2 separate regions of the Homo sapiens genome follow, and region 2 is linked to region 1. The links are contacts of gene promoters, found by promoter capture Hi-C in blood cells and fetal thymus (Javierre and others, 2016). All regions are on one chromosome and are shown on one strand. Each heading gives the region's core, a stretch centred on a gene start or on the middle of the fragment in contact. The rest is flanking DNA. Distances are from core to core; before and after follow the strand shown. Region 1 holds the start of P2RY8 (P2Y receptor family member 8). Region 2 holds the start of LINC03112 (long intergenic non-protein coding RNA 3112).

Region 1 (5,822 bases), core at 1,883-4,382:
TATATATTTGTATATTATTTATATATAATATATTTACATATATATTTATATATAATATATTTACATATATTATATATTTATATATATTTACATATATATTTATATACAATATATTTACATATATTATATATTTATATATATTTACATATATATTTATATACTTACTATTTATATATTATATATTATTTATATATAATTATTTATATAATTATATATGTAATACATATATATATACACACACACAGATAGGTGTATCTGTTGCTTTATCCTAAGTGAACACAGATACTGCATCACTAGGGAGCGACATTGTGAACCGCAGAACACTCCCTGCAGTCCCCTGAGCTCAGTCTGGTCCTTGGGGGTGATCCTGGGGGCACCCATCACGCCCACGCCCTTTCCGTACCTTAACAGGTGTAGGCAGGGTGTTGTGTGTCTCCCAGGGGCCGTGCAGAATCTCCTAACCCGAGAGAGGAAGAGCAGGGTTCCAGGTGGACACTGGGATCCCTGGACCCTGCCCCGCCCACCCCACTGCCTCTAGGGACAGAAGAGGGGCTGGGGGAGGGAGGTTGGGGACCATGCCCAGACACAGCCAATGAGGAGGTCCTGATGGAGAGGCAGGGCTGAAGGAGAGGGCGCAGGAGAGAGACTCAGACGAGAGGGGGCCATCTGCCCGGGGAAAGGGCCTCTCCAAGCGCAGGGCTGTACGTATGCACCACTGGCAACAGCTACCCTGCTGTTGTTAATCCTAAGCCATCGCTTCTTCCCTGGAACTTTAAGGGACAAACTCAGAACTGCAGTGTGGGTAGGGTTGGAGGGAGGGAGCGTCTCTGTGGTTCTCCAAGGGGACCTCACCTCTCCCACCCACCCCAAGGTTGGTCAGTCTGAATGGTGCAGCCAGGCGGGGACCTGGCAGAAGGCATCTGAAAAGCATGTGCTTTTACAAACACAGGGTTGCCCACCGTCCCGTACGTCCCATGCACGCCTCTCTCAGCCTCTGACCTAATTGTCCTCTTGTGGGGTGGGGGAGGCCAATATTTGGGAAAAGGGGCAGCATCCTGGTGCACGTAGGACGCTGGCACCTGTCTGGCAGTGCCTAAATGAAAGTACTGCTTTTCCAATGTGGGATAATTCCTTTTTTTTTTTTTTTTTTTTTGAGACAGAGTCTCACTCTGTCACCCAGGCTGGAGTGCAGTGGCGCGATCTTGGCTCACCGCAACCTCCGCCTCCTGGGTTCAAGTGATTCTGCTGCCTTAGCGTGCCGAGTAACTGGGATGACAGGTGCCCGCCGCCACACTCGGCTAATTTTGGTATTTTTAGTAGAGACGGGGTTTCACTATGTTGGCCAGGCTGGTCTCAAACCCCTGACCTCAAGTGATCCACCCACCTCGGCCTCCCAAAGTGCTGGGATTACAGGCGTCTGTCACCGCCGTAAACACAAAATATGCTACTATCTGGCGCTGCTTGCCAAAGTCAAGTGGGCTATGCAAGGAGGAACGGAACGGGAAGGAGAGATTGAACGGCGCAGTCAGGTGCACCTGCTTCCCCACGGGCTTCAGCTCCTCAGCGGTTTTCACTTAGGGCTCTCGCGCTTCAGACTTCTCATCCACGTTACGTAAAGATAACAACATGGGAAGAAACAACCACACACACACACACACACACAGACACACACACAGACACACACACACACACACACACAAACCCTTTTCTTTTTGGGAACAGAGCCACGTGACCATGGTTCCCCTTTATAGAAATGGGACCTAAAGCGCCACAGCAGGCCTTGTTGTGTGTGGCCTGAAATTCCCAGAGCAGCTCCCTCTGCCTTTTCTCAGCTTTTTAGGGGACAGATCTGACAAGACCCAAGGAATTGGGGTTTCTAAGCGGACCTGTACAAATGAGGTCTGAGGTGGCCGTGAGACCCGGGTCTGGGGTCTCCCTGGCACCGAGGGGGTGACGAGGGGCCACCGTGCTCATCCAGGCACCCATAGGGCTTTAAAACCCGTTTAATTTATGCTTACTCTTCCATTATTGGAACGCTAAGCATTTGGGAGTTATTTATATCCCACGGCTCAAGGTCATCGCCAAGGTCTCATTGCAAACATTGAAAAAACTGCAATCTCAGGCGTAAATGGGTTACGTGCAGCAGCCGCAGCTGCTTACCCTCTCTAAGGTTAACCTCAAGAGAGGCGCATTTCATGGAATGAGTTTTTTTTTGTTTTTTTTTTTCTAAACAGAGTCTCGCTCTGTCGCCCAGGCTGGAGTGCAGTGGCGTGATCTCTGCTCACTGCAAGCTCCACCTCCAGGGATCATGCCATTCTCCTGCCTCAGCCTCCCGAGTAGCTGGGACCGCAGGCGCCCACCACCAAGCCCAGCTAATTTTTGTATTTTTAGTAGAGACGGGGTTTCACCGTGTTAGCCAGGATGGTCTCGAACTCCTGACCTCAGATGATCCACCCACCTCGGTCCCCCAAAGTGCTGGGATTACAGGCACCTGCCACCACGCCTGGCTAATTTTTGTATTTTTAGTAGAGACGGGGTTTCACCGTGTTAGCCAGGATGGTCTCGAACTCCTGACCTCGTGATCCGCCCACCTCGGCCTCTGAAAGTTCATGGAATGAGTTATTAAAGGAAGGGTGGCTTGCAGCCCTGGAAAATTTGAGCATTTCTCCCCTAAGTGACGAAGCGGCTGTGCAAAGTCTTCCTCCCAGGAAATTTGCACTCCTGGTCTGCTCTAGCGTGAGGAGAACACGCCTCATGGAGTTTGCACCGTCTTCCCCCATGTTCTCACCGTACACGGACCCTCCCAGCGACCCTGTCTTCTCCCTTGACAGTGCAGGACAAGCATAAAAGTCCAGCTCGGCGGCTCACCTGTGCAGAAGCAGCGGCAGAAGTAGCAGGTGAGAGCTCAGAGGGTCTCCAGGTAACAGGATGCAACGCTTAAGTCGACGGCCGTGCCTCAGAGCCCGGGACTCGGGGGGCCAGCCACCAGCTTGCAAGCCGTGGTCACTCAAAGTGCTTGAGAAGGTGTTCGTGGGCGGCAGACGGCTGCCCTTCCAGTTCCATCTGTCCAGCAACCTTGCAAAGGCGGCCGCTTCGCTGGGTGGCCCACCGGCTGGCACGACTGTCTCCGAATGCAAATTCTGCAAACTCCACCTCCCAGCGCACCACCACGGTTGCGACTCAGGCTTAGGTGGAAAGGAAGTGTGTTGTGACATTTCCTCTGTAACTGTCTGAACACTCATGTGCAGGGCTGAGCCCACTGGAGTAACGTCGCTGTGTCTCTGGGCAGCACCGTTAACCGCCCACCTCCCTATCACTGGCTCGCAGGGGGCCCTACTCTTAAGAGAACCCTGAGAGTGAGGAAAAGAGGGAGAATGATTTTTCTAAATTTTGTAACCAGCAGTGAAGAGCCGTGGCATGCTCCAGAACCGATTCCTGTTTCTTCTGAAATAACAAAACAAAACAAAGAAAGAACAGAACACGTTTCCTTTTAGACTCTAAAGCTGTGCTCATTGCGACATCTCTTGGTACACAGCCAGACTGTGACAAGCGAACAGACCTTGGGCACTGATCATTCCGGCTCTCACAGTTGGTCACGGGCGCTGCAGGCTCATATCCTCAACATCCCATGGGGGATCGGCCAGTTTCAGGAATGAGAACCAGGTTTCCGAGCTCTGGTATCCTTGCTTGTGAGGAGCAACGGTTGGTTCTTGTCACTCGTGGGAGGAGGTTGAGAGGGAAGGATCTGTCACTGAGAAAGAATGAATGAATATTGAACCACTGCTCAGGGAAAAGACATGGTAGAATCAATCCCTCAAGCCAGGCTGGGTGTGGTGGCTCACGCCTGTAGTCCCAGCACTTTGGGAGGCCAAGGCGGGTGGATCACTTCAGGTCAGGAGTTTGAGACCAGCCTGGCCAACATGGCGAAATCCCGTCCCTACTAAAAACACAAAAATTAGCTGGGTGTGGTGGTGGACACCTGTAGTCCCAGCTACTGGGGAGGCTGAGGCAGGAGAATCACTTGAACCTGGGAGGTGGAGGTTGCAGTGAGCCAAGATCAGGCCATTGCACTCCAGTCTGGGTGACAGTGAGACTGTCCCAAAAAACAAACAAACAAACAAAAAGACCAGGCCTGCTGGCTCACGCCTATAATCCCAGCACTTTGGGAGGCCAAGGCGGGTGGATCACTTGAGGTCAGGAGTTCGAGACCAGCCTGGCCAACATAGCGAAATCCCGTCCCTACTAAAAATACAAAAATTAGCTGGGCATGGTGGTGGATGCCTGTAATCCTAGCTACTGGGGAGGCTGAGGCAGGAGAATCACTTGAACCCGGGAGCTGGAGGTTGCAGTGAGCCAAGATCAGGCCATTGCACTCCAGCCTGGGTAACAGAGTGAGACTGTCTCAAAAAAAAAAAAAAAGTCGAGGCCTGGTGGCTCACACCTGTATTCCCAGCACTTTGAGGTGCCAAGGTGGGCCGGATCACTTGAGGTCAGGAGTTCGAGACCAGCCTGGCCAACATAGCGAAACCTGTCCCTTAAAAATACAAAAATTAGCTAGGCGTGGTGGTGGACGCCTGTAATCCCAGCTACTGGGGAGGCTGAGGCAGGAGAAGCATGTGAACCTAGGAGGTGGAGGTGGCAGTGAGCCCAGATTGGGCCATTGTACCCCAGCCTGGGTGACAGAGTGAGACTGTCTCAAAAAAAAAAAAAAAAAAAGGCCAGGCCTGGTGGCTCACGCCTATAATCCCAGCACTTTGGGAGGCCAAGGCGGGTGGATCACTTGAGATCAGCAGTTCAAGACTAGCCTGGCCAACATGGCGAAACCCTGTCTCTACTAAAAATACAAAAATTAGCTGGGTGTGATGGTGGGGGCCTGTAGTTCCAGCTACTGGGGAGGCTGAGGCAAGAGAATGACTTGAACCAGAGAGGCAGAGGTTGCAGAGAGCCGAGATCATGCCACTGCACTCCAGCCTGGGCAACAGAGAGAGACCCTGTCTCAAAAAAAAAAAAAAAAAAAATCAAAAGAATCCTTCAGGCCCCTGGTCACAGTGTTTTCTTCAACAGATCAATAAGTAGCTTTATATTATGTGTGTTTCTGTTTGAAAACACCTTATTAAGGAAATCGTTCTGTAAAAGGACATCCACACTCACAGTTCATCACAGCACTATTCACCATAGCAAAGACACAGAGTCAACCCAGGTGCTTATCCACCATGCATCGGATAAAGAAAATAGGGTACGTGACCGGCGGGTGCAGAGGCTCACGCCTGTAATCCCAGCAGTCTGGGAGGCCGAGGCAGGTGGATCACCTGAGGTCAGGAGTTCGAGACCAGACTGGTCAACATGGAGAAACCCCCTCTCTACTAAAAATACAAAAAATAATCTTGGCGTGGTGAAAGACACCTGTAATCCCAGCTATTTGGGAGACTGAGTCAGGAGGATCGCTTGAACCCGGGAGGCGGAGGTTGCAGTGAGCCGAGATCATGCCGCTGCACCCCAGCCTGGGCAACAAGAGCGAAACTCTGTCTCAAAAAATAAATAAATAAACAAATAAAAATAAAAAATAATAAAATGGGGTACATAGACACCATGGAATAGTACAAAGCTGTGAAAAAGAATGAAATCATGTCCTTTGCAGCAACTTGGATCCAGCCGGAGGCCATTCTCCAAAGTAAATTAATACAGAGACAGAAAGCCAAATACCGCATGTTCTCACTTATAAGCAGGAGGTAAACACAGGGTACTCATGGACATAAAGATGGGAACAACAGGCCAGGCGTGGTGGCTCATGCCTGTAATCCCAGCACTGTGGGAGGCCGAGG
Region 2 (5,822 bases), core at 2,267-4,766, 1.1 Mb after region 1:
CTATCTCTTTATCCATCCTTCCAGCAAGTGATCCATCCATTCACGCATCCAGATGGCTGTCTGTCCATTCATTCATCCATCCACCACTTCCTACCCCCAGACCCATCTATCCACCCATCATCCACTGACTTCAAAAGCTTCATTTGATCGTCTGTGCAGCAGACATGGTGTGTGATGCTCTGACACCTCTTAAGTGCTTTGGTTGCCCACAAGAACCTCACGGGAGGTCTCTAAGTTGGGCTCAGACCTTGGTAATGAAAACCAGAAATAAAAGTGATTTAAAGAAAGCTGATAGAAACCTAACTTTAGCAAATGGTAAGATAAAAATGTACTCCTTTGTCCTGTAAAAGAAGTTGGGAATGTGAGTCGGGCTGGCACAGCCGTCCTGCTGTATCATCAGCCACCCTGATACCTTTGCTCAACGTGTTCTGCCATGCTTAGAATACAACTTCTGGCCGGGTGCGGTGGCTCATGCCTGTAATCCCAGCACTTTGGGAGGCCGAGGTGGGCGGATCATGAGGTCAGGAGTTCGAGACCAGCCTGGCCAACAAGGTGAAACCCTGTCTTTACTAAAAATACAAAAAGTAGCCTGGCATGGTGGTGCATGCCTGTAATCCCAGGTACTGGGGAGGCTGAGGCAGGAGAATCACTTGAACCCGGGAGGCGGAGGTTGCAGTGAGCCAAGATTGTGCCACTGCACTCCAGCCTGGGCCACAGAGCAAGACTCCATCTCAAAACAAACAAATAAACAAACAAACAACACACAGACAACTTCTATCCTGTAGGAGACTTCCTGCTTCGAACTGGCTGCTGGGACTCCAGCCATCACGTCATTATCCCAGGCAGGTTCAGGATGAAGCAAAGACCAAAAAAAAAAAAAAAAGAAAGAAAAAAGAAAAATGATTCTGCCTCCAGGAGTGGAGTGCATAGTTAGACTGCTGCATTCCTCAAACCCCTGAGGTGGGCCCCAGGGTGCGGGGCCAGCCCCTCTGGCCTTGCCTGTGTCTGATCCAGGGGCACAGGTGGCCTGGGGAGAGACGGAGTCACCCGCAGGCCTGAGACAGCACAAGACCAGTGTTACCGAAGGGCCCCTGACGCAGCCTGCTGGGGTGAGTCGCCAAGGACCAGGACTCAGCCAGGCGACCCAGATAGGGGTCTTACCCCCAACCCCAAACCACGACCACAAGTCCTCACTCCCAACCCTGTCTCTGAGCTTGCGGCAGAACGTCCTTGGTCCCGCGCAGAGCGGGTATCCGCAGTGTGTCTCAAAGCCCCCCACCCCCGCCATCTTTCACCACTGAGCGCCCCCAGCTCGGACGCTCCAGAAAGGACCAGGGGCCGTGGCTGCCTGTCAAGGCCTACGCCTTTCTAAGCAGGGAGGGGATTGCACTTTGCACCCCTTGGGGATCGCCCTGAGCGCCCCGTGAGCAGCTGGAAGGGGGCCCCATAGTTTTCCGAGCAGAGGAGCAGGAAGAGTTTCATTTCCTCCCCGTTGGGGCTGCCTGGGGGGGGTGCCTGTTAGGAACAGAGAGGGGACAGCAAGGGCGGGCGCGGAGAGGCCCACACCTCTCCAAGAAGGGCAGCGGTTTCTCTTGGCTCCAGGTAGGGGCCGCCCTGGGGCGTGCATTTAAGGGGCTGTAGAGAGGGAGGGACCCGCACTTTCCCGAGAATGTTGGGGGTTTCACTTTGCTCTAGTTGGCGGCATCCTGGCGACGGGCTTGTGGGCGGGGGGCACTCACAGTTTCCTGAGAAGGGAAGGAGGGCGTCCCGTGGTCCCCTCGGCGCGGCCCGAGCCACCTCCGCCCGCCCCCTCCTCTGTCCCCTCCCCGGGCCCGGCGTTCCCTCCCCTTCCGTGCGCCAGTGGAGGCCGGGGTGGGGCGGGGCGGGGCAGGCGCAGCCTGGGCTGAGTTTGCAGGGCTGCTCCCCTCACCCAACCCCTTCGAGTCCTCCGCGGGCTCCGCCCCACCCGGCCCGTGGGGGAGGTTCCGTCCCGCCGCCTTCGCCCGCGCGCTGCACTCGCGGACGATCTCTGCTCGCCTTGGGCGCGCCGTGGCGCGCGGGGCCGTGCTGGCGCTGCGGCTCCTCGGCCTGCTCCGCCGTCTGGTGGCCGCCCCGGTGAGCGAGCGGCGGGATCCGGGTGGGAGGACGCGGGGGGTGGCGCGGGCTGGGCCTGGGGATCCGCCTGGGGATGTGGGGTGCAGGGGCGGGGCGCCCCGCGGGGACACCCGGCCCCTCTTCCGTGCCCGGCGGGACGCGCTGTGCCCACGGGGACCCAGGTCCGGAGGAGGCGCCCACTTTCTCCCCAGCGCTCTTCCTGGGGCCAGGTGGGAGCCGTTTCAGAGGAAAAAGCCAGCGTTTCTTTCGTAAACCAAAAAGTATCTGGGACAAGTCCCAATCCTTTTGAGTTGATTCGGCGAAGATCAGGAAGGAGCCCGGGAGACGGGTCTATGCCTTTCTCCAAAGATACTATTGAGAGCTTCGGTATTTAAAGGGGGAAAGCACGCTGGAGGGGAAAGAAGGAGGAAGGCTCATTTTACCGAATTCACCTGTTGCAAAAGAAAAGCAGCAGGTAGAATAGTCAATTATGTATTTGTCTTGCGCTCACTAAATTGGCACTTTACTAAGATAAGGTCAACAGAGAGTTATTGCACTGTCTGCTTGGGAACAGAAGGAAAGACAGCTTCCTGCCTGACTCAGCTTCCAGCTTTATTATTATTATTATTAATTATTTTGGCAGAGTGAACTGGGGTTCCAAGTTTTAATTTTCCTTCTACAGTTTGCAGAATCGCAAACTCTTAAATTTAGGGGAACCTGGGGAAGAGGTGGCATCCGATTCCCCCCCAACCCTGGTGACGTTCTTATGGATCTTATGGATACTGCAGTCTCTCTTCTCTTTCTGTCTCTCCTCTCTTCTCTTTCCTTTCTCTCTCTCCTCTTCTCTCCCTCTTCCTCTCTCTCTCCTCTCCTCTCTCTCTCTTCTCTCCTGTTCCCTCTCTCTCTTCTCTCTCTTCTTTCTCTCGCTTTTCTCTCTCCTCACTCTCCTCTCTCCCTCTCTCTCCCCTCTTTCCTCTTTCTCTCGCCTCTCTCTCACCTCTCTCCTCTCTCCCCTTTTCTCTCTCTCCCCCTCTTCTCTCTCTCCCCCTCTTCTTTCTCTCCTTTTCTCTCTCGTCTCTCTCTCCTCTCCTCTCTCCTCTCTCTCTCCTCTCCTCTCTCTCCTCTTTTCTCTCTCCCATCTCTCTCTCTCCTGTCTCCTTCTCTCTTGTCTCTCGCCTTTCTCCTCTCTCTATCTCCTCACTCTCTCCTTCTCTCTCCTCTCTCTCTTGTCTCTCTCCCGCCTCTCTCATCTATCTCCTCTCTCTCTCCCCCCTCTCCTCCCTCTCCTCTTTCTCTCCTCTATCTCCTCTCTCCCCCTCTTTCTCTCTCCTCTCTCTCTCTTACTCCCTCTTTTTCTGTCTCATGCTCATCTTTTACTGTTTTCACCTGAGGGAAGAGTGATGAGAAGATAGGAATTCACGTTTTCTGAAGTATTTAGAAACGTGGGGCCGTGGTGTTTTCTCCACCTGTTTTTGGGTCATTCCTTCCTCATTTCTCAGAACATTGGTATTAACAGCTCATTTCCCTCCTTTAAGGGCTGACTTTGACTTAGCGATGCCTTTCCTGATGGAGGAAACAGTGAGTAACTTTTTAAAGTCTCCTCTGTTGCTGACTTTGCTGATTGTCATTGAATTATTATCATTTTCAAGACATCTCTTTTGCGTGATAAATGGATTGAGTTTGGACAGTGGGAACATAGGAAGTATATGTGTTGTTTATTTTTGTTGTTGGATTTTTGATATATTTTTTTTTTGTTACCAGCATGCTGGTTTTTTTGTTTTTTTTGTTTTTTTTTTTTTTTGAAGTGTAGGTTCAGAGTCTCACTCTGTGGCCCAGGCTGGAGTGCGGTGGCGCGATCTCGGCTCACCGCAACCTCCGCCTCCTGGGCTTAAGCGATTCTTGTGCCTCAGCCTCCTGAGCATCTGGAATTACAGGCACCCACTACCACGCCCGGCTAATTTTTGTCTTTTTAGTAGGGGCTGGGTTTTGCCATGTGGAGCAGGCTGGTCTCTAACTCCTAAACTCAAGCTATGCACTCACCTTGGCCTCCCAAAGTGCTGGGATTATAGGTGCAAGCCATCACGCCCAGCCAGTATGCTGGCTTTTATTTTAAAATGGTTAGTCTTTGGAACAACGTAAGGCAAATGTGACTCCCTTGGCCAGGTCAGGCCTCGTGGGCATAGATCTGCGCAGTCACACAGGGACCTGTGCACACAAGGGTGCCATGCTGCTTTATTGCTGTGTTGCTGCCATCTTCAGATTCTTCATACAGTTGGAACAATGGGTCGCACATTTTCATTTTCACAGGCCCTCCCAAATTCTGGAGGTGGTCTGCACACCTGGTTTAGTTTTCTTTGAAAATACTTGAAGTTAAATCCTGTACCTGGAAGACAACAGAAGGGAATTGGCAGGAGGCTACGTGTATGGGTATCCCCACCATGACAAAAACAAGGGCCAGTTTTTACCTGTTTAGTGAACAGTCTCTGTGCAAATTGATATTTCAGTTTCTTTTCTCATCGCTATGGAAATTGATTTTTCATTTTCTGGTCGCTGTGGAAATTGATTTTTCATTTTCTTTTCTGGTCGCTATCAAAATTGATTTTTCATTTTCTGGTCGCTATGGAAATTGATTTTTCATTTTCTTGACTACTAGGTACTGATGATTGCAACTCTCATGTTTTACAAACAGGTGACCCAGCACCACCTAATGCCCCCAAACCAAAGCCAGATCCAAACCCCAACCGACCTGGTTTCACTGGTAAGAGCCTCTAACCCTACGGGTGGTCTCTATATTGTTTATTGTAACTTTATTTTATACTTATTCATAAGAATATTAATTCACATTTTCTCATGTTTTCTCATTTCTATCATATGACATTTACTGACAAATACTATTCTATCTAAATATATAATAAAATACATTAATTCCTTTAATCCCTAATGTTGAAAACATTGTGTCTTCTGACATTTTAGAATTATGAATTACAAAGCCAATTTGAGTCAACTTTGTCTACTCTTTTTCATTCCTTTGAAGAGATTTCTGGCATTCAAATTGTCTAGATCAATGCTCATGAGTACTTTTATAGCTTTTAACCTGGTTGGTTGTTTGCCCCAGAATTGCACCAATTTGATTTGATACCAGGGTGTCTGCAAATGTCCCTGTCTTCGAACCTTTTCCAGTAGCAATTATCACCTACAAAACCTTTGTCAAATAGTGTAATTATTATATCAAACCGGTCTTAGTTTTACATCTCTCATTCTGAAATGTAAAAAGCATAATGCATCCCAATGGGCCACGGAGACTTCTTCTTTTGTGTATTGGATGCTTTGGCTTTGATCCTTCAATTCATGGTGCCCGCCACCAGGCCCAGCTCATTTTTGTATTGTTAGTAGAGATGGGGTTTCACCATGTTGGCCAGGCTGGTCTGGAACTCCTGACCTCAGATGTTCTGCCTGCCTCAGCCTCCCTACCTACTGATGTATGAGCCTTCTTCAGTGATTTATCAATATTAAAGATTACCAGCCACTTATTATGAAAATGGTTTTGCACTTTATTTTTGCCTTTGAATATTTTTAACAGGAATGTTTTACAAGTGGTATGTTTATTTTTTTATGGTGTCTTATGTTTGTGTGGATATCCTGCTTTTTGTAACTTTTTTTCCTTTTAAATTGAGAATCATTTTGCTATTGTCCCTTCTCTTCAGAGAAGTAAAACCTTCTTTTTAATT

Evidence for each region. The method cuts DNA at HindIII sites, captures the fragments that hold promoters and counts their contacts. A CHiCAGO score of 5 or more calls a contact.
Region 2: a fragment that was not itself captured here is called in contact with the fragment with the promoter of P2RY8 in region 1 in 4 of 17 cell types (naive CD8 T cells, total B cells, erythroblasts and 1 more); the score reaches 9.3 in naive CD8 T cells.

The regions. Positions count from the first base shown.
Region 1 is chrX:1,534,053-1,539,874 of GRCh38, forward strand. It overlaps P2RY8 (P2Y receptor family member 8), which reads right to left and starts at 3,133. Exons shown (of 2, transcript NM_178129.5): 1 at 2,869-3,133. The HindIII fragment of the contact is 32,946 bases long and covers 1-5,822 here.
Region 2 is chrX:2,607,367-2,613,188 of GRCh38, forward strand. It overlaps LINC03112 (long intergenic non-protein coding RNA 3112), which reads right to left and starts at 1,801. Exons shown (of 2, transcript XR_001755779.3): 1 at 1,740-1,801. MIR6089 (microRNA 6089) reads left to right here and starts at 1,825; the gene lies at 1,825-1,888. LINC00102 (long intergenic non-protein coding RNA 102) reads right to left here. Exons shown (of 2, transcript NR_037842.1): 2 at 5,625-5,822. It also overlaps the pseudogene CD99P1. RefSeq lists an enhancer at 1,172-1,696. The HindIII fragment of the contact is 6,762 bases long and covers 136-5,822 here.